3 separate regions of the Homo sapiens genome follow, and all the other regions are linked to region 2. The links are contacts of gene promoters, found by promoter capture Hi-C in human tissues and cell types (Jung and others, 2019). All regions are on one chromosome and are shown on one strand. The core of a region is centred on a gene start or on the middle of the fragment in contact, and the rest is flanking DNA. Distances in the headings are between cores, read along the strand shown.

Region 1 (3,623 bases), core at 97-2,596, 1.0 Mb after region 2:
TTTTAAAACTTCCCCATTTTAATTCCTACTATGATAAATGTCAGTAGATTAACCTACATAACCAGAAGCTCTTTGGGGGTAACAGCTTTATTGAGATATAACTAATATACCATGCAATTCACCCATTTCAAGAGCATCTGATTTATTTTGGCATTTATAATGTTCCATCCTTACAGTTCTTTATCTCCATAACTTATCACTCCCACTAGAACTAAAATTTTCGAGGCAAAGACCAGATCTCAAACATCTGTGTGTTTTCCTTAGTTCCTGGAGTAGTCCTACAAACATCCCAGGCACAACAATGCCTTTCACTGAACCACATCCTCTGATTTTTTTTCTGCCAGTCCTAAATTGTATACATTCTTTAGACAGGACTGGATTCAACAATTAGCCTTTTAAATAAAGGTTCCATGTCCATGTGTCAGTTTTTGGGGTGATGTGGCAGGGACACAAGTCCCACTTCACTATCGTTTTGGGATGAGGACTGTCTCAATAAGAGAGCATGGGTGGCAGCTTTTATGAAAGGACATAGCAAAGGACAAGGACAGGGCTTATCCCTGGAGCCTGCTCTAGGAAAGGAAAGGAGGCCCTAGGGAATGAGCTGGGTCTAGGAAGTGGCCTGAAGGCTTCCTAGCCATGTGAAAATGTTTGTAAATAGTACCACCGTTAGGCGATAGGATTAAGAGCCATAACGCAGGATGCTTGTAAATGTTTTCAGACACTGAAGACCAAGGAACACTTACTTGCTGAGGAAGAGCTTGAAGAAGGTGAGGCTTGCACTCTAGACCAGACCTGAAAGTGAGGGACTGTTCCAGGCAGGTGGGAGGGGAGGTGGGAGGCATCCCCTGCGTGTGCAGACCACACCTCAGGAGCAGTGGAGTCTGAGGGGCGGGGGAGGGAAGAGAAAGAGAGATGGGTAAGGCTGGAGAGAGAGGGTGAGATGGGCTGATCAGGTTGAGGCAGTTGAGCCTTTACTCCGGCAATCCAATCAGTCAGGGATCCTGATCTCTCGTGGTGGGAGGCAGGGTGGCCACGTTCGAAGACTTCCTTTCAGCCCCAGGGGTGAGGTGATGTGAGAAGGAAGAATGGAAAGGATGCAGATTGGCCTAATAGCTTTTATTTGCCTGAACCATACAGGTCCCTTATTCAACAAATATTTGCTAAGCACCTGCTTTATTCCAGGCAGAGTATAAGCTACTCCTGATTGTATTGTCTGTCTTTCTTTCAATGTGTTTTGTATGAAAATGTGTCCCCAGTTGGACTTGTGCTGAATTGTATCTGGGGACCCTGTCTTTAATCCAGCTTAGCTCTGCACTCTCAAACTGCAAATTAAAGGTGTGTAATAAATGAGTATGGGAAATAAAAATAATAGAAAAACAGAACCCAAACAAAAAAATGAGTATGTGATTGAGTGACAATGACAGGATTCACACCCCCAAACTATTACTACAAAAGGGAGGAGCTTACTTGTTTCTAACAGAGCAAGGAGCAATCTGTGTGTACTGCAGGCTCTGCTTCCCCAGTGATGGGATGGGCTGGCGCCAGGTCCTTCCGGTGTGGTGCAGTGCGGTGGGAGCACACAGTATCACCTGGGTAGTATTCTTGCCAAAAAGATTTAACTCAGATCTAATCATAAAGAAATGATTAGGCCACCAAAATTTGTAGGGACAGCTCATTGGTCTGCATTATTTAAAAACATCAGTGTCACGAAAGAGAAAAGAATTCCTTTAGATGAAAGGAGATTAAAGAAACATGACAACTTCACTGAGCAGCATATGACCCTTAATTAATGAAGTCCTCCCCCAACCCTCCCTGCCACCAAAAAAGAGACAGGTCAGTTCGGGAAGTTGGAATGTGAACTGGATATTAGATAATGACAATACGTCAACTTTAACTTTGTTGGGTATGATAATGGTATTGTGGCTCTGAAGGAGAATGTCCCTGTTCTTAAGTATTTATGGGTGAAATAAGATGTCTCCCACTTATTAATACTTTCAAAAATCACAGCAAGAAAACGTGTATGCATGTAGCTAAAACAAACTGACAAAAATGCTTATGATAGGTGAATCAAGGTAAAGAGAATGGGATGTTCTTGTTCTCATTCAACTTTTTGGGTAGCTTTAAAATTTTTTGAAATTAAAAGTTGGAAAAATTAAAATGATTTACTTGGGCATGTAGCTGTTTCAGCAGTAAGGTTGACTGAAGCTGACTTTAAGTTACTCGCTTTACTTGTCTTCAGGGTTGTCAGGCTCTCGAATGGTGTGCGTGCCCAAGTCCCTAATGCTGCTTCCACTGTGTCAGGACTGAGACATCTTTGAACTTCGTGTCCTATTTTAATCCTTGGAAAATTCACTCTGTGGCTTCTGAAACCAGCATATTTAGCAATAGTAAGGAATACAGTGAGTTAATGAATTTCCGTGGGAAACCTGGATGGCTGGCTGAGATATCTGACTTGGGAATGTGTCTCGTCCCAGCTACCTGCCCACTGCAGCTCCGTGGGGGGCTTGGAACTGATAATGAGATTTCACGATCAGAATCGGGGGGCCTATACACAGCCTTCCTTCAGCACTCTGTATGCCAGTGAGAAATTTGAACTGGTTTCCGGGACCACCATCTTACTCCTCAGGGTCTGGACTGGAACCTACTGCAGAGAGCAAGATCGCCTGTTTGGCGGTAGCACACAATGGTGTTGCTGAGAAATGAGTAGTTTTTGAGTTGGAGCCAGCAGCACGTCACAAGGGACGCTGCCAGGCAGCTCAGCCCAGGTAGATGGCACCAAAAGGGGTGCTCTTGGGGCTGAGGCTGACAAGAGGCACTCAAGTCGGGTTTTGAAAGTGCAGATGAGTATGCATTGGCAGAGAGGGCTTCTGAACACATTCTAGGGAGGGAGAAACGTGCATGGAAGAAAGCCTGTAAGTCCAGAGTGTGTGTGGGGAGGAGGCGGCACCGTGCCGGGTATCGCTCTGAGCCTGTGTGTGGGTTCACACTACCATTTTCACACATGTGGAAACAGTCATAGAAAGTCAGGCAGCTGCTCTGAGATGACGTCGCCGGCTCCTGGTGGAGCAGATTCGGAGCACCCACTCACCCAGGCTCTTGGGTACTGTGTCTCCTGACCCCTTCCATCGGCTAGTGGCTGACTGTATTCGAGGCGGGGGCCTGTCATGAGTAGCGAGAAGGACAGTTAGAGGTTCCCTTTGTTCAGCCATCTTATCCTTCAAATGGGAATTGCACCAACAGATGGAATCCAACAAACAGTGTAATAAATAAATTGCCTGTTCTGGGCTGGGACCTTTATATGAATTCTCATTGATTCGCATAGAAATCCCTCACGGTAGTTGGATAGAGGCTCAAGAGAGATGAAGAGACTGCTAAGATCATACATTTTTCTGACTCCACAGCCCACTTTCTACTATGTTTCTCTGTCACTGGTAGAGTGGCCAGGGATACAGAAATGAATGAGCTGCTCCGTGCCTCCCAGAACAGTACCCGGGACCACGTGCGAGGTATTACAGAGAAGAGCAGCACGTGGTGAATTCTTCCATTAGGCAGCCTGTGGGCAGGGCCATTCTAGAGGCTCGGAGTGTTACGGGAGATCAGAAGAGGGAAAGTTTAGTTTTCTG
Region 2 (3,422 bases), core at 381-2,880:
AGTAGAGACGGGGTTTTACTGTGTTAGCCAGGATGGTCTCGATCTCCTGACTTCGTGATCTGCCCGCCTCGGCCTCCCAAAGTGCTGGGATTACATGTGTGAGCCACCGCACCCGGCCTATTTGTTTTGTATTTTTTAGCAGAGACAGGTTTCACCATGTTGGCCAGGCTGGTCTCAAACTCATGACCTCAAGTGATCTGCCCGCCTCGGCCTCCCAAAGTGCTGGGATTACAGGCGTGAGCCACCACGCCCAGCCATGTCTTTTTTTTTTTTTTTTTTGAGACAAGAGTTTCGCTCTTGTTGCCCAGGCTGGAGTGCAATGACGCGATTTCGGCTCACCGCAATCTCCGCCTCCTGGGTACAAGCAATTCTCCTGCCTTAGCCTCCCGAGTAGATGGGATGACAGGCATGCACCACCATGCCCAGCTAATTTGGTATTTTTATTTTTTTATATTTATTTATTTTTTCGAGACGGAGTCTCGCTCTGTCGCCCAGGCTGGAGTGTAATGGTGCGATCTGGGCTCACTGCAACCTCTGCCTCCCGGGTTCAAGCGATTCTCCTGTCTCAGCCTCCTGAGTAGCTGGGATTACAGGCGCCCGCCACCACGCCCGGCTAATTTTTGTATTTTTAGTAGAGACGGGGTTTCTCCATGTTGGTCAGGCTGGTCTCGAACTCCCGACCTCAGGTGATCCGCCTGCCTCGGCCTTCCAAAGTGCTGGGATTACAGGAGTAATCCCAAAAAAAGCGCCGGGCCCTTTTTTTGTTGTTTTTTAAATTCAGTAACTATCTAGTTCATTCTTGGATGGATGACAACCCAGATTGGATGTGTAGCAGCGTTCTCTTAACCAGTTTCCTATTAATCTTCATTTCATCCCCAGTGTTTCTCCAGAATGCAAATAATATGGCATTAAATATCTTCACACATAGCTTTTTGTGTATGTGTATACTTATTTCTCTAGAATTAGTGTCTAGAAGTGAAACTGCCGGGAGGAAGGATATATACTTTTAACATGTCCAAGTTCCACTGTGATAGCGCTGCGAGGGCACACAACAGGTTTCAATATACCTTGGACCAAACCGGATATTATCAGTTTTTTTAACTTGTTGCTAATGTGATGGGGGAAAAATGAACTCGGAATTTACACACAAGGAAAAGACCGTTTAAGGTTCAGGGACTGTCCACATAGCTGTCAAGTGGCGGAGCCGTGATTTGGTATTAAAGTGCCCGGAGAGGACGCGTCAAAGTTGGACACTGTGCCCTGTGTCCTGAGGCACGTCTGGTGATCGCTGGGCCTTGCAATGCTGGGCAGGCAGGCCTTCCTCTCCCCTTCTAGGCCTCTGGCCACTCCTGGCTGGCCGAAAGCCGGTTCTTCTCGATTACCGAGTGCCTCTCCTGAAAGCAAGTCAGCGTCGCCTAACCTCTTCAGCTTCGAAATGGCGGCCACCAGATCGCTAGGCCACGCCCCGGGGGCGGGGCCTGAGTTCAGGCCAGAGCGATGGATGCCCGAGCCAAGTTAGAAGTCGACTGCCAGTAGGGCTCGCGCAGAATCGGAGAGCCGGTGGCGTCGCAGGTCGGGAGGACGAGCACCGAGTCGAGGGCTCGCTCGTCTGGGCCGCCCGAGAGTCTTAATCGCGGGCGCTTGGGCCGCCATCTTAGATGGCGGGAGTAAGAGGAAAACGATTGTGAGGCGGGAACGGCTTTCTGCTGCCTTTTTTGGGCCCCGAAAAGGGTCAGCTGGCCGGGCTTTGGGGCGCGTGCCCTGAGGCGCGGAGCGCGTTTGCTACGATGCGGGGGCTGCTCGGGGCTCCGTCCCCTGGGCTGGGGACGCGCCGAATGTGACCGCCTCCCGCTCCCTCACCCGCCGCGGGGAGGAGGAGCGGGCGAGAAGCTGCCGCCGAACGACAGGACGTTGGGGCGGCCTGGCTCCCTCAGGTAGGTGGCAGGACCGGGTCGTGGATGCCGGGGGAGCCGGGCGGCGGGGCTGAGGGATCGGCTTCCAGGGCGACCGGGCCTGGGTGGCGCTGATGGAGCGGCCCCGCGGCTGCCGGGCAGAGGGCTTGGGCCAGGCCGTTGTCACCCTGGGGTAGCGTTGGGCGGGGGCCCCGGAGTCCGGTGTCATGGCCGGCGAGCCGAGTTCCCACATCCCACTCAAATTTCCTTGTGTTTGGCGGAAACGTGCCAACGCCACCCTTATGCCATGCGCATTCCTCATATTTGGCAGTGGGAAAATCCGCCCAGAGCTGCCCCATATCTGTTGTCACTTGGATGGGCCAATTCCTTTTCTCTTGGGCCGCCGAATGTGGGACCCGGGCTTGCACCCTTTCTCAGGGTACTTCAGTCAAGTGACACCCTTTTAGAGACGACGTGAGGAATCGGGTAAGAGAGGAGGAAACTGGCCAGTGCCCTACCACAAAGGCACAGGGGCCTCTTCTTGGGTATCAGGACTAGCCTTGGGTATCAGGACTCTGGGTTATTAATGAAAGGTTTGGGATACTTATAGAGGATTGGCCTCAGGACGCTTTGGAATGAAGAGCCAGGGCTGTCTTTTGTGTGACGCGAGAGCCGCCGGGACGCTTCAGCTCTGCAGCTGCTGAGGCTCTGCGAGCGAGTCGATGCCCAAGAGAGAGGGGTTTGGACGTCGTGAGAGGCGAGGCGGCCGTGTTCATTCATTGTTCTCGTTCTAGGGCTCTGGGTGTGCCCCTGGTATTCATTCTGTGGTGGGAAGAAGGAATGGAACTTAGTGTATCCTTGAGATGTGAACGGGTTCTAGGGGGTCACTTAATCTAAGTGGAAAATGAATTCAAGGCACGTTCATTGAGCGTTTCTGCTTGCCTGGTCCTCTGTGGGCTGAGTGGAGAGACTCTGCCCTCCCTGCGCTCCTAAGGCGTGAAAACAATGCAGTGTGATAAGAATTGGCTTATCAAGTGTTATGGGGATTTAGAACAGTTAGTTTTGCTTGGGGAGGAGTTGAGGAAGCTTCTACACTCGAGGAGACTTCTGAGTCGAGTTTTGAAACACCTGTGAGTAAGTGCTCATCGGGTGAGGAGGAGCTCAGGGAACAGCTGGTACAAAGGCTTAGAGCCATGTGGGAGTTGGGATGAGTTTGGGGAGCAGCAAATTGCCTGGGGTGCAGGAAGGAAATGGTGAGAGATGAGAGTAAAATAAAAGTTGCTAGAATTGTGAGGGGGCTGTCTTTGTTGTAGATAGTGAACTAGTTGAATTTGGATTATTGTACATGGGTTGCCGAGTCTTCATTCTTGCTGATAATTTTCTCCCTTTGTTGATGTTGAAGCTGATAGTGATTGAACATATTTAGTTTAACTTAGTTAATGACTTTTAAATTTTTTTTTATTTTTTCAGAACAATGCAAACTTTTTTTTTTTTTTTTTTTTTTTTTTTTTTTTTTAAAGGAACAGGATC
Region 3 (3,125 bases), core at 449-2,948, 1.8 Mb before region 2:
TCTAAAGGCAGATGAGCAAACGCCTTTGTTCTTTATAGCTTAGGGCCCTGGGTTCAGGCTCACACCTGTGATCACAACATACCCCCGCACCAGCCTTTGGCATCAGCAAAGCCATGACAACAGCCAGTGTCTAGGTTTTCAGGGAACAGTTCAGCTCTAATTAGTAACAGGTAACATTTCAGTTATGGGTTAACATTTCCACTATTGCTAATGTATCAGTTATACCTAAAACCTTAAAATTACAAGCTAACATTTTACATTTGTTAATCACTAACATCCTAGTCACTATGTGACATATTAATCAGCAGCAAACACTCCAGTTATGAATAATACTTTGGTTAACAGCTAACACCCTGGCCATGAGTGGATGATTTAATTATCAGCTAACGCTTTCCTGAACAACTAACATTGGAGGTGCCGGCTGAAATGTTAGTTATAACTCAGTTAATCTGATTTAGCAGCTAAAATCTAAGCCAGTGCCTCTCAACCCATAAAGTGCTCTTGGATTATCTGGGGATAATGTTACAACGCAGCCTTGGAGTTTGTAGGTTTGGGGCAGGCCCACGAAGCTCCCTGCAATGCTGATGGGAATGCTTGTGGCCCCCTCTGCAAAGCGAGGGTCCATGCTGTGGCTAATGGCTCTTACCACGGTTGCTGGCTAACCTCCTGTTACCAGCTAACCTATTTATTAGAAGCCCAACATTAGTTATCTGCTACCATCTGCACTGACTGCCAATACCTTGAGATGAGAAAGCTGTGGTGGATGGGGCTAGCTCGTGTAGGCTCCTGAGAGCCTGGCTCTTCAATATTCAGGAATTCTGTGAGCTGGTCATTAAACTGTGGACAGCTTGAAAGCAAACATGGTGGGAGCACTGACACCATGAAATGGACAAACGCTACAACAAACCTGAGTTTTACTTTTTTCCAGAGGGCGGGCTTACCAGCACGCCACCACTGGCCACCTCCCTCTTGGGGCGTGGCTAATTGCAGGCGGGAAGTGGGGGAGAGGGCCAGCCTGGCACAGCTCTCCAGGAGGCAGGGGACGGACAGAAGTCCAACTTACCTTCCCAGTGGACCTGACGCCCTTCCAGATGCAGAAGAAACACACTAGCCAGACTAAAAGAAGGCAGAGAGCGAGGTCCCATTTCAGAGAGCCTGGGTGGTCGATTCCAGGGGACAAGCTCAGCACGTTGCGCCTTGAAGCAAACACAGAGCCAGGAGTCAGTGAGGGGCCTGGCCCTGGAGTAGAGAGAGCCAAGGCTCGGACATTAACAGGCTGGGGGTCAAATCCCACCTGAGGCGCTGCATTTACATAAGTCACCTCACCTTTCCAAACCCAGGAATCCCCATTTGTCTTGAGACAGAGTTGTTGGAAAGAAAAGAAAAGGATAGACTCAGACTCCAGATTCAGGCAAACCCAGGTTCAACTTAGTCTGGCCTCAGGCAAGTTAAGGAACCCCTGAGCCTCAGTTTCCTCATCTGTGAAATGGGCACTGATTTTCTGTTGGGACTTCAGCAGAACCTTCTTCAGTGCCAACCGTGGGCCAAACACTAGGTTCAATTCTCAGCTCTACTGTTTGTTCCGTCACTGACAGAACGAAGTTAGCCAACTTTCCCAGACCTCTGGCTCCTCGTCTATAAAGTGTTGCCCTCCCCCAATATTGTCCCTTATTATTTTATTCATCCCTGTGTAACCTGGATCTCTCACTAAAATGTAAGTCACACAAGGTCCTAAATTCAGGGTCTGGGATGCAGCTAGCACTTGATAAACCTTTGCAGATGTTAACTGTGGTGTTCAGATGCCCAGGGAAGTTTCAGGCACACAGCCGGCACCTAAGCAATGCTGGTTTCCTCCCCTGCCCTGCCAGGGTTTTGAGGGTCTCAGAGAGAGGCAGGTAAACGGTTTTAAGGATAATTGGCACGGGACAGTCACCAACCCTGCCCAGGATGACACGGCAGAGCGTGGGTCTTTGGAGTCCAGACTTAAGCCTCCCACCAATCCGAGCTGATTCCTGCTGCCCTGCTAAACAAGCACACAAGTACCTACTCCCAGACATTCTTATGGATGACAGCATCTGAAAGCAGGCCAGGGCGATGCAGGGTACTGACAGCCCAGGCCATGAAACTTGATGCCCAGAAGTGGCACCCATGGTCCCAGAGCTCTGACTGCTGCAACAGTGATCGAGGACAGCCACGCTGAGAACAGAGACATCGGCCCTGCCCACTGGGCCTCCCAGGTTACCTGTCCACCACAGGCTGCTGGCCACAAGAGACAGGGTCTGCATGCTCCAGGGTGTTTGCGAACCCCTGGAAGAAGCTGAGTTTCCTTCTAATGGGAGTCAGCTCCCTGTCTGAAGGTCACACTCCCATGCAGGAGGGGCAGGGAGTGAAGTGTGACTCTGTGCCTCAGTTTCCCCTTTTGTAAAATGAGAATAACAGCTCCTGCCCAGGATGCTCTTGGGGAAGCATTCTGGAACATCCCAAGCTTTCAGCCAGTCCGTGGGATTACCCCCACAGTCAGGGCTCTGGTTCTCGGAACACACACCAGGCTAGACCCTTTATCATTTTTATTTTATTTTTTTTAGAGAAGCTTCAACATAAGGACTTTGAATAAATCCAAGATTCCCTTCTCAACTGGTATTCAAGCAAGGCCTTTCTTTAGTTTACTGCTGTGTTCCCAGCACCTAGAACAGCATCTGGCCCATTGGAGGACCTCAATAAAGACCTGTTGAGTGAATGAGTGAATGAATGGACTCAACTGGGAGGACAGCAAGTTCACATGTCACTGTAGGACCGATCCGTGAAATACTCCCACTAACAGCCATAAGACAGGACAGCTTTTCTTTGCCCTCTTCTTGCTGGTCACAGCGACATCAGTGGGCTCCCCCTGGCACCAGGGATGTCAACATGATAATGCTGATGGACGAAATAAAAGCTACCAGCAACCACCTGCTTTCCAAGGCCTTTTCAGTTTATCTCATCTGATCCCAGGAGTAGAGGCCATTCACCCCATTTTACAGATAGGGAAAATGAAGGCTTGGTGGGTCCACTTGCCCATGGTCACAGAGCCAGCAGGTGACACAGAGCTGCCACCCCAAGCCCACACCTGTCTGACTCCAAAACCA

Evidence for each region. The method cuts DNA at HindIII sites, captures the fragments that hold promoters and counts their contacts. A contact is called where the count stands out against the background at its distance.
Region 1: a fragment that was not itself captured here is called in contact with the fragment with the promoter of RAF1 in region 2 in 1 of the 25 tissues and cell types used here (aorta).
Region 3: a fragment that was not itself captured here is called in contact with the fragment with the promoter of RAF1 in region 2 in 1 of the 25 tissues and cell types used here (psoas muscle).

The regions. Positions count from the first base shown.
Region 1 is chr3:11,613,416-11,617,038 of GRCh38, reverse strand. The region is part of intron 1 of VGLL4 (vestigial like family member 4); the gene reads left to right. Among named protein-coding and RNA genes, the nearest start is that of VGLL4, 29 kb to the left of the region's middle. The HindIII fragment of the contact is 5,661 bases long and covers 1-3,623 here.
Region 2 is chr3:12,662,325-12,665,746 of GRCh38, reverse strand. It overlaps RAF1 (Raf-1 proto-oncogene, serine/threonine kinase), which reads left to right and starts at 1,630. Exons shown (of 17, transcript NM_002880.4): 1 at 1,630-1,934. RefSeq lists enhancers at 1,255-1,324, 1,365-1,714, 1,326-1,937, 1,938-2,548 and a silencer at 1,905-2,124. The HindIII fragment of the contact is 15,309 bases long and covers 1-3,422 here.
Region 3 is chr3:14,456,021-14,459,145 of GRCh38, reverse strand. SLC6A6 (solute carrier family 6 member 6) reads right to left here. Exons shown (of 15, transcript NM_003043.6): 6 at 1,064-1,196. Among named protein-coding and RNA genes, the nearest start is that of SLC6A6, 55 kb to the right of the region's middle. The HindIII fragment of the contact is 4,812 bases long and covers 1-3,125 here.